Regions from separate parts of the Homo sapiens genome. Here all the other regions are linked to region 2. Evidence: promoter capture Hi-C in 16 types of primary human blood cells and fetal thymus (Javierre and others, 2016). All regions are on one chromosome and are shown on one strand. The core of a region is centred on a gene start or on the middle of the fragment in contact, and the rest is flanking DNA. Distances in the headings are between cores, read along the strand shown.

The links. The method cuts DNA at HindIII sites, captures the fragments that hold promoters and counts their contacts. A CHiCAGO score of 5 or more calls a contact.
Region 1: a fragment that was not itself captured here is called in contact with the fragment with the promoter of SYCE3 in region 2 in 1 of 17 cell types (monocytes); the score reaches 5.0 in monocytes.
Region 3: a fragment that was not itself captured here is called in contact with the fragment with the promoter of SYCE3 in region 2 in 1 of 17 cell types (monocytes); the score reaches 5.1 in monocytes.

What each region holds. Positions count from the first base shown.
Region 1 is chr22:50,284,235-50,286,934 of GRCh38, reverse strand. PLXNB2 (plexin B2) reads left to right here. Exons shown (of 37, transcript NM_012401.4): 9 at 648-762; 10 at 837-945; 11 at 1,034-1,135; 12 at 2,270-2,362. Among named protein-coding and RNA genes, the nearest start is that of MAPK11, 15 kb to the right of the region's middle. The HindIII fragment of the contact is 5,633 bases long and covers 1-2,700 here.
Region 2 is chr22:50,561,510-50,564,209 of GRCh38, reverse strand. It overlaps SYCE3 (synaptonemal complex central element protein 3), which reads left to right and starts at 1,291. Exons shown (of 3, transcript NM_001123225.3): 1 at 1,291-1,352. LOC107985568 (a long non-coding RNA gene) reads right to left here and starts at 1,249. Exons shown (of 2, transcript XR_001755606.3): 1 at 643-1,249. RefSeq lists silencers at 1,190-1,599, 2,670-2,700. The HindIII fragment of the contact is 5,765 bases long and covers 1-2,700 here.
Region 3 is chr22:50,145,653-50,148,352 of GRCh38, reverse strand. MOV10L1 (Mov10 like RNA helicase 1) reads right to left here. Exons shown (of 27, transcript NM_018995.3): 19 at 2,543-2,664. Among named protein-coding and RNA genes, the nearest start is that of PANX2, 24 kb to the left of the region's middle. The HindIII fragment of the contact is 7,030 bases long and covers 1-2,700 here.

The sequences.
Region 1 (2,700 bases), core at 152-2,651, 280 kb after region 2:
GGTTCTGGCTTCTTGGGCTGTCCGCAGCCACGCCCCCCAGGCCTGTAGCAAAGGTGACTTGTCTTCAGCCTGCTCCCTCATCACGTCCGGAGCGGCATGTGGGTGCCAGGCGCCAGGCCCCGTCGTCTCGGCAGACGCCCCTCACCCCTTCCTGCCATGTCCAGCTTCAGAGAGCAGGGCCGTTCCCAGAGGCTGCAGGGCCTCGCATGTGGGCCAGGGCAGGCGTCGCGCCCATGTCCCCTGAGTTTTGGGGGCAGTGGGGCCACGCAGTGACGTGGGCAGGGACCTGGCAGGTCCCACTCAGACTCCAAGGAGCCGCTGCCCTCAGTGCCTGCGGGAACAGAGGGTATGAAAGCAACCTGGACCCGGGGGAGAAAGGCAAGCCCGGTGCTGCGCCCGACACCCGAACCAAGATCTGATAGCAGGTGGCAGGTCCAGCCCAGCGTGAACGGGCGTCCTGGCAGCCCCACCCGAGATCTGATAGCAGGTGGCAGGCCCCGCCCAACATGAATGCGGGGCGTCCTGGCAGGGCCCCCTGAAGACCAGGGGTCTCCACCTTGGCCCCAGGAGTCAGCCCCAGGGGAGGCCCAGCCTGGCCCTCGGCCCTGCGGCCGCCACCTTGACACCTCCCCCTCTGCTGTCTGCAGACCACGTGGCCGTGACCATCCAGCTCCTCCTTAGACGAGGCAACATCTTCCTCACGTCCTACCAGTACCCCTTCTACGACTGCCGCCAGGCCATGAGCCTGGAGGAGAACCTGCCGTGAGTGTCTTGTGCCCATCGACCCCACCCTGCCCGTCCACCCCAGCCCTGCTCACGATCCCCTCTGGATGCAGGTGCATCTCCTGCGTGAGCAACCGCTGGACCTGCCAGTGGGACCTGCGCTACCACGAGTGCCGGGAGGCTTCGCCCAACCCTGAGGACGGCATCGTCCGTGCCCACATGGTGAGGGGCCTCGGGGCCTCAGGGGACTGTTCAGGGCATGGCTGCTCCGCTGTGCCCAGGCAGCACCTGACCAGCCTTACTCTCCCAGGAGGACAGCTGTCCCCAGTTCCTGGGACCCAGCCCCCTGGTGATCCCCATGAACCACGAGACAGATGTGAACTTCCAGGGCAAGAACCTGGACACCGTGAAGGTGCGGAGGGAGGGGTGCCGGCTGGTGACAGGCAGGCTCAGGTGCGGAGGGAGGGGTGCCGGCCGGTGACAGGCAGGCTCAGGTACGGAGGGAGGGGTGCCGGCCGGTGACAGGCAGGCTCAGGTGCGGAGGGAGGGGTGCCGGCTGTGACAGGCAGGCTCAGGTGCGGAGGGAGGGGTGCCGGCCGGTGACAGGCAGGCTCAGGTGCGGAGGGAGGGGTGCCGGCTGTGACAGGCAGGCTCAGGTGCGGAGGGAGGGGTGCCGGCCGGTGACAGGCAGGCTCAGGTGCGGAGGGAGGGGTGCCGGCCGGTGACAGGCAGGCTCAGGTACGGAGGGAGGGGGTGCCGGTTGGTGACAGGCAGGCTCAGGTGCGGAGGGAGGGGGTGCCGGCCGGTGACAGGCAGGCTCAGGTGCGGAGGGAGGGGTGCCGGCCGGTGACAGGCAGGCTCAGGTGCGGAGGGAGGGGTGCCGGCCGGTGACAGGCAGGCTCAGGTGCGGAGGGAGGGGGTGCCGGTTGGTGACAGGCAGGCTCAGGTGCGGAGGGAGGGGTGCCGGCCGGTGACAGGCAGGCTCAGGTGCGGAGGGAGGGGGTGCCGGTTGGTGACAGGCAGGCTAAGGTACGGAGGGAGGGGTGCCGGCCAGTGCTGATGGGTGTGTGGGAAGCCTGAGCTCCACCCGTGCCCCCCGACTCGGGGCCCCCACATGAGGTAGAGGGCACAGGATTTATCGGGGACAGAGGCCAGGAGGCAGCACTCGGGGGCCTTTGGATGGGCCTGAAGAGAGGCAGTGGAGGAGGCAGGCGTGTGGAGATTGAGGGGCCAGTGCCACCTCCTGAGGAGGGAGCTGTGGGGGCCACGATGTCAGGTGGGCCGGGCGATGTTCTCAGGTGTGGATGAGTGGTGGAGGTGGCCGTGGGAAACCCACAGAGGACGTTCAGAGGCTTCTGCAGACACAGGTGTTTGGGCTCAGGAGTGGCCGAGGGGTCAGCTGGCATGGTAATCTGAGGGGCGGGCATGTGTGGGGTGAGGAGAGGGCTCCCACACTGTAGGCACAGAGGAGGGGCTGCAGGGGTTCTGGGAGGAGGGCCAGGGTGCCACAGCCGCCTGTCCAGGGTCCTGACGGCATGGTCTGCAGGGTTCCTCCCTGCACGTGGGCAGTGACTTGCTCAAGTTCATGGAGCCGGTGACCATGCAGGAATCTGGGACCTTCGCCTTTCGGACCCCAAAGGTACGGCTCCAGGGCAGGCCGGCTCGGCTGCTGGACCCCAGGGCCCCGGGTGGGGTGGGGGGTCACCTTCAGGACTGTGAGGGGAGGGGCAGCAGGGAGACCCCAGGGACCAGAGCCCAGCCAGGGGCTCGCCATGCCCTGTGCTGCTGGGGAAGCCCCCTCTGCCCTCTGCCTCCCTGGGGACAGAGTGGCACAGAGCAGCGTCCATGGGGTTCCCGAACTTCCGACACCTGAAGGCCTCCCCTGCTGCCCTTGGCTGGGAAGGGACCCGGTGGCCACAGGGAGGCTGCCCTTGTGACCCCCGCCCCACGCCCCTCTGTGGGGGCAGGAAGTGCAGT
Region 2 (2,700 bases), core at 42-2,541:
TCGTGCCACTGCACTCCAGCCTGGGCAACAGAGCAAGACTCCGTCTCAAAAAAAAAAAAAAAGAATTATTCCCTATTCATGTTTCTCTGGGCTGCTGTAACAGAAATCGGCTCTGGGCTGTATAAGCAAATGGAAGTATGAAGAGCAGCTCACAGGTGGAAAGGGATGGCCAGAAAACCGGGTTCAACCGGGGCAGGAACCTGGCAGCTGGCGGAGGGAGTGTGGCCCAGGCAGCAGCCTCCTCAATAAACAAGCGAATGCTCACTCCTTGCCCAGAACTGTCTGGCTCAACCCCAGCCATTTTTCCTCCTCTGCAATCAGGCTGCTAAGAATCAGAATCCCTGAGAGAAAATTCAGGGGGTCTAAGGTTTGTCAGGATTCTCAAACACAAGGTGTTCAAAATCAAAGTTAACCTTCCAAGCTAGCTTCTCCCACTCTTCCACATCTCTGCCAGTGGTATCACCCCGGCCATTAGCCCCTTGCTTCTTTCTCCCTCCCTCCCACATTACCAAGCCCTGTCAAGTCGACCTTGGAATGGCTTTGACCCTGTCCACCACTCAGCCAAACAACAGCAACGGCCGGCCCCGTCGCCACCCGCCTCGGCAGCCAGAGACCTTTTAACTCTGCCACTCGCCTACTTACCACCCTTCTAGGGTGCCCACGTCCCTCTGAAAAAAAAGGCTGAGCTCAGACTGGCCTCTGGTCAGCCTCCTCCCAGCCAGAGCTTTCTGTCACTGCCCTTCTAGGTGTTGAGTGGCTCTGCTTCCAGTTCTTGCCTGGAGACCAGGAGCGCCCGGGAGGCCCCAGCACTTTCCAGCCCACATAGACCTGCGTGCACCTCTGCCTCGTCTCCCTGAGCCCGGGCTGCCTCCTCTGTAAGATACATGCCACATAATGTCCGCCACACATGATCGCTGTGACAGTGGAAATAGCTGGGCGTTCAGCGACTCATTCGACAAATGTTTACCAGCACCTTTGGTACCGGGCGCTGTCCTGGACACTGGGGACACAGCAGGCAAACGGGGCCCTGCGTATAAATCCTTAAGCTCAAGAAGGAGGTGGGGGCAAAACTGTCAGGCCGGGAAGCTCTTCATCTCCGCAGGATTCTCCCTCAACCTCAGGACGTCCCCAGCACCGCACCTGCCAGTCCCAGACTCGGACGCCGCAGACCTGTGGGAGCAGCGCGGAATGCCCCGCCCCTTTTCCCGAGGACACCCAATGAGGGCGAGAGGTCACTTCCGGGGAGGGTTCGCTAACGGAAAGGGCGGGGCATCCCTCTCGAGGAGCGGCCTTGTTCCTCAAGCGGCCGCTGGGGGCGCCAGAGCAGGACCGGAGCGCGGGCCAAGCTGGAGGTGAGCGAGGCCGCGCCCCCCTGGGCCCCGGCCCTCCCAACGCGCCCTGACGGCTGGGCTCCGCCTGACCCTGTCCTAGCGTTCGCGGTGGCACCAACCTCAAGCCAGACCCTTGACTTCGACCCAACTCCACTCACCCGACTCCACTCACTCCACACCCCATGCCCCTCCCCCGACGCCCCTCACCCCGCCTCACCCTTCACCCCTCATCGCTCACGTCACCGCTCACCCGCCTCCTCACCCAGCCTCGCCCCTCACCCCTCACCCCGCCTCACCCCTCACCCCGCCTCACCCCTCACCCCTCATCCCGCCTCACCCCTCACCCCTCATCCCGCCTCACCCCTCACCCCTCCTCACCCCGCCTCACCCGCCTCGCCCCTCACCCCTCACCCCTCCTCACCCCGCCTCACCCCTCACCCCTCACCCCGCCTCACCCCTCACCCCGCCTCACCCCTCACCCCGCCTCACCCTTCACCCCTCACCCCGCCTCACCCTTCACCCCTCACCCCGCCTCACCCCTCACCCCTCACCCCGCCTCACCCTTCACCCCTCACCCCGCCTCACCCTTCACCCCTCACCCCGCCTCACCCCTCCTTACCCCGCCTCACCCGCCTCGCCCCTCACCCCTCATCGCTCACGTCACCGTTCACCCGCCTCCTCACCCAGCCTCACCCCTCACCCCGCCTCACCCCTCACCCCGCCTCACCCCTCACCCCTCCTCACCCCGCCTCACCCCGCCTCACCCCTCCCCCGCTCCCCTCACTGCACACTCCATACCCCACTCTCCCCACCTTACATCCCTCACCTCAGTCCTTCACCCCCTTAACCTAATCTCCATGTCCTCACACCATACACTCCTGATCCTGAAGTCTGCACACCCTGGGCTTCTCATTCCGTGCAGCCTGCCCCTCTTACCCTCACACCTGCCACACCTGGGACCCCGGAGTCCACACACCACCTCACACCCCAAGTTCCCACACGCACCTCTGGCTTCCTCCACCTGCACTTCAGGACCCGCCCAGACTCTTCATAGCCCAACTCCAAGACTTCTCTCCCACATCACAGGTGCATTCCCTTCCTGTGCTGCTCTCATCCCGTACAAAAGAGCACATCTCTGCACCAAGCATCCCTCTTATCCCCTCACATTCCTTGTTCTCAGAGGGATCCCAGACTCTGTTAGAAACTCTTCGTACCAGGCAAGACACTCAGACCACAAACCAGACTCTAGGCTCTGACTCGCTCAACCCCCGTCCTTCACACCTAAAGTGATACCCAAGCCAGACCCTACACTCCCGCCCCACGCTCCCGCCCCACACTCCTCCCGCCCCACGCTCCTCCCGCCCCACAC
Region 3 (2,700 bases), core at 195-2,694, 420 kb after region 2:
CCACCCCACCTGGGGCCATGAGCTGAGGAACAGGTGCCCCGGCTTCCCTGGCTCGCCCACCCCAGCAGCTTCTGCTCTGTGGTCAGGAGGCCTCAGTGGGGAAATGCTCTTGGGGCAGAAACATGTCCTGATGCCTGAGGAAGCAGGTATGGGGCAGAGAGAGTGTCCGGAGCCACGCCAACACTCAACAGGACGCACCTTGGGCCCGCACCGTCCTCACTGCCGAGCCCACGTTTACCCTTCTCACTGCTGATTCCAGGATCTCCCCTCTCCAACCCTAGATGCTGGGCAAATCCATCACCTCTGAGCCTCAGGTGTCCCACTGTGGGGTGAGACCCTGTGGTCAGACCTGTGCGGGGGCGGGCTCCTGCTTACAGCAGTGCTGGGCCCAACATGTCCTGCATCCACTCACGGTCAGCTGACACCTTTCACTTCAGGTATCAATGTGTAACTCTCAAGACACGGATTTCACAAGTGACACCGTGAACCCCTCCCAGTGAAAGATGTGGAAATCAGCAAACTGCCATTTCCCCATCTCATGTCCCTATTTCTGTTGAAAAAAATTAACATTATGTATCTTTCCTAGAATGTAAGTATTTAGGTTTCAATTCTGTATTAATTGCAGTTATTTAATGTCACTTTTGCCAGATGACATTGCTACTTCTTTGCCCTTTGAAGTGCCCCTCCCCACTCCAGCCGCCCCCAGTGGCCAACTAACGCTGTGGGGCCTCTGCAGCTGGGCTGCAGCACCCTCCCTGCTTCTGCACAGAGCGCCTCTGAGAGAGCGGCCTGCAGCACCCTCCCTGCTTCTGCACAGAGCGCCTCTGAGAGAGCGGCCTGCAGCACCCTCCCTGCTTCTGCACAGAGCGCCTCTGAGAGAGCGGCCTGCAGCACCCTCCCTGCTTCTGCACAGAGCGCCTCTGAGAGAGCGGCCTGCAGCACCCTCCCTGCTTCTGCACAGAGCGCCTCTGAGAGAGCGGCCTGCAGCACCCTCCCTGCTTCTGCACAGAGCGCCTCTGAGAGAGCGGCCTGCAGCACCCTCCCTGCTTCTGCACAGAGCGCCTCTGAGAGAGCGGCCTGCAGCACCCTCCCTGCTTCTGCACAGAGCGCCTCTGAGAGAGCGGCCTGCAGCACCCTCCCTGCTTCTGCACAGAGTGCCTCTGAGAGAGCGGCCTGCCCTGGCCGGCCACCTCCTCCCACTACCTGAACATCAGCTCCAGGGTGCAGGGTCCATGCAGTGCCCGCTCTGCCCCCAAAGAGCCCTCTGCACCCCAGTGAGGACTGGCTCTTCGGCTCTTGACCTTTGACTCATCAACACACATTAACAAAAAAAATCCCTGTCTTGTTCAGATCCGTGCTGTCCAATCCGGTAGCCACACACGGCTCTCGGGCACCGCACAGTGGCTAGTCTGAAACCTGACATGCTCTAAGTGTAAAATACATGGTGGATTTTGAAGACTTGAACCAAAAAAAATGTAAAGTGTCTCATCAATCACGTTCTACTAATCTCATGATGAAAGGACATCATGTATGTGAGAGAGTTAAACGCGCCGATGAAACCATCCGTGACACGCTGTGATAGGCGTGGCTGGCTGTGCCTTTGCTCCATGTGGAGCTGACGGACCACCTCCTGTGGTCACCCTCACGACCACCGTGACGCTGGACACTGTCCAGGGTGACCTGTCTCCAGGCTGTCAGGGAGGGTCACGACCACTGTGACGCTGGACACTGTTCAGAGCGACCTGTCTCCAGGCCGTCAGGGAGGGTGGGGCTTCCCTCAGAGGCCCTGGCTTCTCCCTCTCTCACCCTCAGCCTGTGCCCCCGACACTGTCTGGCTCTATGCACTGAGAGGGAGCTGCCTGCTGCCTCCCCGACCCCACCCCCCTGCACTGGGGTCTGAGAGTGCCTTGGTCCTCACTCAGCCTCCCTGGGCTCGAAGCTCTTCCTCCCAGCCCCCAGGGGAGGTCCTCCTATGACAGCCGGCACCCCACAATCCATCTCCTCCGCCTGTCTCCCCTGAAGAGCCCCCAGCGCCAGGGACACAAATGGCCCCCAGGGTCTGACCTTACAGAGCCCAGCCGTTTCCTAGGCAGCCTGCCTCCCCACGCCCACTCCAAGAGACTCACTCTCCTGCTCAGAAGCCCTTCACTGGCTTCCCGGCTCACCAGAGGTCGTCCAAAGGCCCCTCCACAGCCCGCCAGGCCTCCCCCTCACCACCCCTTTCAGGCCGTTCCTGCTCACGAGGCTCTGGCTCTACAGTCTCCTTTGGGGAGACCTCAGTGCTCCCCCACCGCGGGGCCTCTGCATGGGCCAGTCCATCTGCCTGCCCATCCCACTGCTGGCTCCTTCGAGTCCTTGGGGTCTCGGCTTCCCCAGCTCCATTCAGGCACGGCCCTCCCCAACCAGCCTTTCTCGCCCACAGCCCTGCCTCCCTCCCTGAGCACTGAGTCTCTGGGTCATCCGCCCCTCAGACAGAAGCTAGGAGAGGACTCCGACCTCTGCCCTGGGAGGCCCCATGCCGCGCTCCATGCCCGGGGCTCACCTCACTCCTATTTGGTAAAACAGCCCTGAGCTGCTGCATGTGGTGATGATTATCCGGAAGCGTGAGGCTTTCCAGATGTCTTCTCCGTCTCTGCAATACGGTTTGACGGCGTCAATAACTATCTGGGGGCAAGGAGGCGTAGAGTTAGTTTACTCCTC